Regions from separate parts of the Homo sapiens genome. Here region 2 is linked to region 1. Evidence: promoter capture Hi-C in 16 types of primary human blood cells and fetal thymus (Javierre and others, 2016). All regions are on one chromosome and are shown on one strand. The core of a region is centred on a gene start or on the middle of the fragment in contact, and the rest is flanking DNA. Distances in the headings are between cores, read along the strand shown.

Region 1 (4,331 bases), core at 969-3,468:
CTTTTTTTTTTTTTTTTTTTGCGACAGAGTCTTGCTGTGTTGCCCAGGCTGGAGTGTAGTGGCACAATCTCAGTTCAGTGCAGCCTCAGCCTCAATCTCCTGGGCTCAAGCCATCCTCCCTCCTCAGCCCCCCAGGACACATCTTTAGAGGGTCACCATTCAACGCACTGTGGTGGGCAAGGCTGCTTTGAGTTTCCTGGTTAGGATACAACCAGCGCTGTGTGTGGATGTCCACACATGCCCCCGCCCCCGGCTGTACAGCCACCGGGAGACTGAGTAAAATGTGAACTGAAGGAGGCCCCAAGGGTGGCAAGCAGAGAAATGAAGGGAAATGTCCCTTACCCACGCCTCTCTCCTTCCCCCACGTGACACTTCTCACAGCAGGTACCGGTACGTGTGCACAGAGGAGAACCCAGTGCCCTTCAGGGAAGAGGGTGCTGAGCCCCTGGACCGCACTTAGGTCTCGCCCCAGCTCTGTGATTTGGACCTGGGCCCCCGAGCCCTAGTCACAGCCGGGGCGGCCCAACTCGCTCCGCCATCGGAAGGCTTCTGGTCGCTCTCAGGGAGGAGCCCCTCTCGTATGGGAATCGAGGTGTTCAATGCCCACGATGCGGAGACCGCCTGGCCCGAGTGGGCCAGTGATCTCAGCTTACAGTCCAGCTCCTTCCTCCCCATGGCTAAGAGGTCAGCACCAGCTCAGGCAAGTGGCGAGGGTGGGATGAGGATGACAGACGGGGTGGAGGCAGGTGGCTGCGAGGGGACAGTGTCAGGACCTCCTAGGAGATCAGGTGTGCTGCAGGGAACAGGGAGAGCCTAGGAGGGGACAGGAAAGTGAGGAGGGGGAGTGGAGAGGACTCCCTGGGCAAGAGACACGAGGGCCAGCACTCAGGCCTCCACAGCCATCCACTGCATGAGCCAAGCCCAGGGACAAAGCTCTGTGACCAGGATGCCCCCAGCAGCCTGACCCTAAGAGTTGAGAACTGTGCCCTGTGAGCAATGTGACCTGAGGGTCCCGGAGTCCTGCGGGGGCTGTGCTGTGTGAGGGCCACCTGTCCTTTAGGTGGGGTACTAAGGGGTTGTGTCCTCTATGGGCTGTGTCGTGGGGGGGCTGTGTGTCCTCTGGGGGGCTATGTGTCCTGGGAAGGTCCCTGTGTCCTGGGAAGGTCTCTGTGACCTGGCGGTCTGTGTGTCCTGGGGGGGCTGTGTGTCTTAGGGGGACCTCTGTGTCTTCTGGGGGAATATGTGCCCTGGAAAGGACTCTGTGTACTGGGGGAGGCTGTGTGTCTTAGGGGGGCTGTGTCCTGGGGGGGTTTCTGTGTCCCGGGGGGGCTGTGTGTCCTGGGAGTGCTGTGTCCTGGGGGACCTCTGTGTCCTGGGGGCACTGTGTGTCCTGGGGGGACCTCTGTGTCCTGGAGACTGCGTGTCTTGGGGGTCCTCTGTGTCCTGGGGGGTCTCTGTCCTGGGGACTGTGTGTCTTGGGCACCCTCTGCGTCCTGCAGGAGCTGCGTGTCCTGGGGGGGCTGAGTGACTTGGGGGCCCTCTGTGTCCTGGGGGTCTCTGTCTCCTGAAGGGGGACCCTAGTATTGTGGCGCTTCTGGGCTTGCCTCTCATGAGGGATGATGCACCGGGCCTCAGTTTTGGGTCAGCCTCCTTTACCGGCTCTCCCCCCTTCCTCCGACCGTCAGGTATCCGTGCCAAGCCCTCAACGGGCCATCCTCCTTCCCGCGGCGACCCCGCGCATGACAAGGCCAGACCCTCCCGCGAACGTGCTCTGCGCTCCCGCCTGGCCCCTCCCCGCCCCGCCCCTCCCCCTCCTCCCCGCCCCGCCTCGCTCCGCCCCTCCCCGCCTCCGCCCCGCCCCGCCCGCCCTGCCTCTCCCCGCCTTTCCTCGCCTCGCCCCGCCCCGCCCCGCCCCCTCCTCCCCGCCCCGCCTCGCTCCGCCTCTCCCCGCCTCATCCCGCCCCGCCCGCCCTGCCTCTCCCCGCCTCATCCCGCCCCGCCCGCCCTGCCTCTCCCCGCCTTTCCTCGCCTCGCCTCGCCTCGCCCCGCCCCGCCCCTCCCCGCCCTGCCTCGCCTCGTCTCGCCTCGCTTCGGTTAGATGCGCTCGGCGCTCCATAGGCTCCCTGGTGGGGCGCGGGCGCGCGCACGGACGTCCAGCACGCACGCACGCACGTCCAGCACACACGCACATCCAGCACGCACGCACGTACGTCCGGCACTTCCGGCCGCGGCGGCCTCAGCGCCGGCCCGAAGGGACCAGGCCGCCGTCCCCAGCGAGAGGCATGCAGCGCTGAGGAGCGGCGACCCAGCACGGCGGCGCCATGAACCTCCTGCCGTGTAACCCTCACGGCAACGGGCTGCTCTACGCCGGCTTCAACCAGGACCACGGTGAGGAGGCGCGGCCCTGTCGCCTTGCCCGGCCGGGCCTTCCCGCAGCCCGGGGTCCCCGGCTCTCAGGCCTCTCCTGGGCGCCCCTTTCCGGCCAGGCCTTCCACCCGGGACCCCGGCCCCGCCCGAGCTCCCCTCCGAAGCCCCCGGCCCCGGCCCTCGCCGCTGCTCCCAGCCCGAGCCGGGGTCCGGACCAGGCCCGAACCGGCTCCCACCTTCCTGGCCTTTCGCGCTCCCCCACCCCCCGGGTTGTGACCGCTCCCAGCCGGCCGTCCCGGGCCGAGGTCGAGGTCGGTGGGAGACGGCACAGAACCCCAGCCTCCTGCGCGGACGCCCCTCCCCGCGCGCCACGCCCACTCGGGTTCCCTGGCTCCCTGCGGGCTCCACGGTTATCGGGATTTTCCCCACAGCGTGATTGACGCCCTGCCCAGAACCCCGTTTTGCCCCCTGTTCCTTTCAGGGTCTTTAGTAGGTAGCCCGTGGCTGAGCTGACTTCGCTTGGGTTTACTGGAGCCGCGGAGCCGGCGTCTCCGACGCCTCTGGTGGCGAGTGGCGCGGGTGGGGTGCAGGTCTCACCTTTCCCGTCGGTTTCCATCGGAAAATGTCACTCTCCCCACCCCCACTCCCCGGGATTTTTCTTCGTGTTTGGTGGAGTCAAAGGACTTAAGGGAGGCCTTTGAGGGAAATCTTACTTCTTTTCCCATGTCGGAATCCAGGTGTAAGCACTGGATGATTTAAAGCGCCCAGGGAAGGTGACCTCCTTCCCCGCAGGTGCTTCGGAGCTGCGGGGGATGCGGCCGGGGCGGCGCGGTCGGATTCCCGCGGGAGGCGGGCGGGACCTGGATTCGGATGGTTGCCTCCTCACCTCCCATTTGAAGGGCGCGCTTCCCAAAGGTCCTGATGGGGAGGAAAAGGAATGTCCGTTATTCCGAGACAGGCTTCTGCGAGGCTTTACATGTTGGCTTTGGAAGTTTTGTTTTTGAAGAGAATCCAGGCAGGTGCTGTATGATCCCGTATATGTGAAGACAATTTTATTTATTTATTTATTTCATTTTGAGACGGAGTCTCATTCTGTCGCCCAGCCTGGTGCGATCTCGACTCACTGCAACCTCCTCCTCCCGGGTTCACGCCATTCTCCTGCCTCAGGCTCCTGAGTAGCTGGGATTACAGGCGCCTGCCTCCACGCCCGGCTACTTTTTGTATTTTTAGTAGAGACGGGGTTTCACCATGTTGGCCAGGCTGGTCTCAATCTGACCTCAGGTGATCCACCCGCCTCGGCCTCCCAAAGTGCTGGGATTACAGGCGTGAGCCACTGCGCCCGGCCGGATTACACATATTTGAAAGAACTCCCTCTCAGTGATTTTGATGCCTGATGCCCTGGGACCAGTCAGGCTTCCTGGGCGCTGCCAGCTTCCCCAGGGTTGTGTGCTGGGGTTTCTCCGGAAGAAAGTTTTGCTGAGATGGTAAGGGAGATGCCTAGCCTTCTCAGAGGGTGGTTTCCAACCATCTGGTGTTTGTAATGCCTTCTTTTTAGTGAAGTGTGCTATACCTGTAGAAGGGTGGATATATCATAAGTGTTCAGGTGATGAATTTTCCAAACTACACACCTGTCACTAACAATTAAGAAATTGAATATACCTGGCCACGCTTGATTCCAATAAATGCTCCCTACCTGACTTGTGACATCATAGATTAGTTTTGCCTACTTCTGTACTTTATTTTTGTACTTATTTTTGTTTCTAGCTGTTTTTTTGTTTTGGGTTTTTTTTTTTTTTTTTTTTTTTTGAGACGGAGTTTTCGCTCTTGTTGCCCAGGCTGGAGTGCAATGGCGCGTTCTAGGCTCACTGCAAACTCCGCCTCTCAGGTTCAAGCAATTCTCCTGTCTCAGCCTCCCGAGTAGCTGAGATTACAGGCATGCACCACCATGCCTGGCTAATTTTGTA
Region 2 (4,331 bases), core at 1,075-3,574, 530 kb before region 1:
GGAAGAGCAGGGGAAGGAGGGGGCTGACGACGAGGACGATGACAGGATTATAAGGAACCAAGACCGCTGCCGGCAAACCCCCTGCTCCATAAATGTGCAAGGCAGCACGGGTAGGAAGCGTCACACACAACCCCGGCCAGAGCCAGGCGACACGCCGAGAAACCCTAACACGACAGTGGCATTGTCGGAAACTGATTTACTTTGTTCAAAAAAAATGCGATAATCTTGGAAAACTAGCAAAATCCCAAGTGTGACTTGAAGACAAAGCACAGGCACTCCAGGGATCAAACCAAGAAGAAACACGGTGAGGGGTTTACATTCTGGAATGCATTGGAAGCAGCCCAGTTTCATCACCTCCGATGGCCAACGGCGGCACAGATGGTCTGCGTGAAGAAACACGAGCCCTGCTGTCTCGGGCGTCGGTGCCTTTGTGGCAGCACTGGCATCTCTCTTTCCTCAAAGTTTAAATTCTGTTTTGATGTCAGCAACACGTCAACACTCATATTCTAGGGAGCAAATTTCTCCTTCTGCTCCTTATGGCTAATGCAAAAGTAAACGCCAATTTACTTTTGTCTAAATTATTGAAAATTCAAGTGGAATCACATAGGATTCAGATAAATAGGATTTTCCTGTTTTTGCTGTCGTCTTCTTAAAATGGCACATAAGCTTCCCTCCCCCTCCACTCACCCCGTGACTTCCTTCTGGTCCACACCCTCCCTCAGGGCCCAGCATCTTCTCAGAGGGTGTAGAAACTCGAACTTTCACAAAACACAGAGGCCAGCCCGGCCCTGTCCTGAGCCGGTCTCATTATTTCCTGTCTGCGGACAGGCCCAGACCTCAAGGAGACTACACACTGTGAGACTGTCTTTGCCACAGGCTACCCTGGCCCAAGGTGGAGGAGCAAAGCCACCCCACAGGCCTCCCAGACATACCCCAACCGCAGCTGGAGGTGAGCGTCTCTCTGCCTGGACCTGCTGTGCTCATCAAATCGACGGCAGCCTGCACGGACCACAGGGGCTTGTGAGTTCCTGACGCTGCCCCGCCAGTTACTTTAGCCAGGGCGTTTGCCCTCCTGTGGAAGTTCAATGTCTTCATGTAAAACAAAGGCAATTGATACCTCCAGGGCCCTGGCACTCCAGCTGTCTGTCTCTGGTGACTGGACCTTCTCTGGATAGCTGCACAGGACCTGGTTCTCCGGGCCATCTGGGACCCTCTGTGCTAGGCCCTAACTTCCAGAAGGCTCAGTCACACTTATTCCCCTTCTCACACACGAGCAGTGAGTCTGTGTGCACGTGGGAGAGCTCCGCTGGGTCCTGGTGCTAAGCTCTCTGGTGGGTGCTGCAAGGTTGTCCGAGCTCTCCAGGTCGCCCCTCCAAGGTGGCTGACAAACATAAGTTCTGTCCCAACCATGGCTCCTGAGTGCCTGTTGTCTACCCCTCACCCATCCCAGCAAACAGCAGCCACTCAGCAAGCCCTTCCTGGAGGGATCCACATCCTGAAATGGCCCCCCAGTGTGGGAAAAGCCCAGAGCGCCACGCTGACACCCGGAGCCCAGGGCCGACAGTGGCAGCTTCTGCTGGGGGTCATGTGGGTCAGGGCACTGCTCCCCACCCTCAGGTGATGCCCGAATGCCCTCCAGGAATGACACAGAGGTGGCATCTGGGTGGTGGACATACACCCCCAGGTGTGGAATACAGGCCCATCCCCGCTGTACCCCCCGGGTGTGGAAAGCCAGGCCCATCCCCCCTGCACCCCCCCAGGCGTGGAAAGCCAGGCCCATCCCCCCTGCACCCCCCAGGCGTGGAAAGCCAGGCCCATCCCCCCTGCACCCCCCAGGCGTGGAAAGCCAGGCCCATCCCCCCTGCACCCCCCAGGCGTGGAAAGCCAGGCCCATCCCCCCTGCACCCCCCAGGCGTGGAAAGCCAGGCCCATCCCCCCTGCACCCCCCAGGCGTGGAAAGCCAGGCCCATCCCCCCTGCACCCCCCAGGCGTGGAAAGCCAGGCCCATCCCCCCTGCACCCCCCAGGCGTGGAAAGCCAGGCCCATCCCCCCTGCACCCCCCAGGCGTGGAAAGCCAGGCCCATCCCCCCTGCACCCCCCAGGCGTGGAAAGCCAGGCCCATCCCCCCTGCACCCCCCAGGCGTGGAAAGCCAGGCCCATCCCCCCTGCATCCCCCAGGCGTGGAAAGCCAGGCCCATCCCCCCTGCACCCCCCAGGCATGGAAAGCCAGGCCTGTTCCCCACCACCAGTGCTCACTCAGGAACTGCACACATGAGGATACCCAGCTGCCAGCTGAATCCCTCAGACAGGCCACTCAGGGAGCATCTGCTTGTCTTCAGGGATCTGCAGAGTGAGCATCTGACCCCTCCCTCCAAGAAGGGCAAAGGGTTTCTCTCTGCATGTTGGGGTGATCGAGGAAGGTAAGCTCATCAAGGAGTGAGCAGACCCGCTGGGCCAGGATGTTTGGGGCCCTGGGTGGGTGGCATCTGGTCTTTGAGGGGGAGGCTGCACATGGCTTACCAGAGCTGAACCCTTGTCATCATGGCTGGAGAGTCTCAATCAAACCCAGTGTCTCAGTGTGGCTCAGGGGAGTGAAGATGCCCTAGTGGAGGTCACCATGACCTACAACCATCAGACAAGACCAGGGGCCTCCCCAGGTTTCAGGGTTTGCAGAGCTTTTCCAACACACAAATGTCTGTAGCTGGAGGCCCCACAGACACCTCGAACTCAAGAGGGCACAAAATTGAGCCCATCGCTGACCCCTCCAATCGGCCCCCTCCAGTGACGTGAATGTCAGCCGTCGAGGACTCTTCCGGATCTCCTTCTCCCCGCCTCACACCAACCAACCCCAAGCCAGTCCCACCCCCCAAGTCCTGATTGAACGGGCTGTTTCCCCCTGGCCCAGCTCTGGCAAAGCCGCCTCTCACGGCGACCAGCTCATTCCTCTGTTCAGAGCTCTATGGTGGTCCTGGGCTCAGGGAGGCCAGACTTGTCGAGAACCCCTATTTTAATTGCCCCCAAATTTCCTCTCTAAATACCAGCTCTGGCCCCTCTGCACATCACCCGTAAGTCCCAGCCTCACAGAAACAAGAGGAGTCAAGGTTCTGGGTCCACGCAGTGTACTCACGGTGGCGGAGTGCGGGCGACCGATGCCCAGGGTTTTGAAAAATGTGCTTTGTGTGTTTTCTCTGTTGTTGTTCTTTCAGAGGGGAGTGTAAATCTACTTCTGATCCCTGTCTGGGGCAGAGGCTGTGGCTCTCGGGTGCATGAACTTCAGCTTGGCCGAGTCCTAGCCGCCAGGTGCTGCCATCCCTGCTGCCCTCACTGCCTCCAGCAGGGTCACACCAGGCAGCGCACACCTGTCTGGCAGGTATGATGGATCTGTCTGCTGCTTTAAATTCCTCTGAAAATTGCCTATTAATATCATCTGTCCATTCATCCACCGGAGTTCCTGTCTTTTTCTTATGAATTGGGGGAATTTATTGTATGTTCCTAATTAATCCCTAATTGGGTTTAGAAGTCGTGCATATCTCATCCCGACCTGTCTTGGTTACTTTTGTGGCAACATTTTTATATCATCCATGACTAAGGGGGCACCACTGAAATGAAGTGGGTGCCACCGCTGAGCTCCCCGTGCAGAGGAAGAAACTAAGGCTCAGAGATGCTGAGCGCTTGCTGCAGGTCCCCTGGCCAGTCGGGGAAGGAGGTGGGATTCACACCAGGCCCTGTGCTCTGACTTTGCCAGTCCCTGCTCTACAAGACTCAATGCCAACACCCAACGGTGAGTCCCGTGAACCCCAGGTGGCCTTCACCCCAGCTCTGTGAGGTGCCCAGAGGGAATAATCGATGGTTGTTGAATCCAAGTTTTTGCATTGTGGAAGAGGTTTTGTTTTCACTGAAATACCCAAAAGGTCAAATGCGGCAAAATCACTTAAAACTGGTCTCTTCCACGAGTAGCTCTTGCGGGAGAAAGGGAAGCTTCTGGATAAACTCAAGCCGCAGGGACTCCTGAGCCAGCTGGAAAGGCAGGCTGTGAGGAGGACATGGGGCCTGTGCAACCTGCATCCGTGCGTCAGGGCCTCACAGCCAAAACCAGCTTCTGTGTCCTGTTTTCTCCAAAGGTTGGCTCTTGAAAGCAGGGTCACCTCCTGAAAAGCCAGTGTTTTCCACCATGCCAACAAAATGAAATAAAGAGTCTGGCACTGGGGCGGGAGTCACAGGCCACCAGCCGGGGGGGCTGAGGATGTGGCCCGTGTGTTGTCAGGGAAGGCAGGCGCCAAGCACCTGGCACCAGTAGCGCCTTTGTTGGGCGCCTGGGAGATTGTTGTTTA

Evidence for each region. The method cuts DNA at HindIII sites, captures the fragments that hold promoters and counts their contacts. A CHiCAGO score of 5 or more calls a contact.
Region 2: a fragment that was not itself captured here is called in contact with the fragment with the promoter of WDR45B in region 1 in 1 of 17 cell types (erythroblasts); the score reaches 5.5 in erythroblasts.

The regions. Positions count from the first base shown.
Region 1 is chr17:82,646,331-82,650,661 of GRCh38, reverse strand. WDR45B (WD repeat domain 45B) reads left to right here and starts at 2,218. Exons shown (of 10, transcript NM_019613.4): 1 at 2,218-2,388. The coding sequence starts at 2,322. RefSeq lists enhancers at 1,626-1,695, 2,074-2,573 and silencers at 1,986-2,055, 2,656-2,705, 2,716-2,765. The HindIII fragment of the contact is 18,003 bases long and covers 1-4,331 here.
Region 2 is chr17:83,179,385-83,183,715 of GRCh38, reverse strand. The region is part of intron 2 of LOC101929650 (a long non-coding RNA gene); the gene reads right to left. Among named protein-coding and RNA genes, the nearest start is that of METRNL, 100 kb to the right of the region's middle. The HindIII fragment of the contact is 3,312 bases long and covers 669-3,980 here.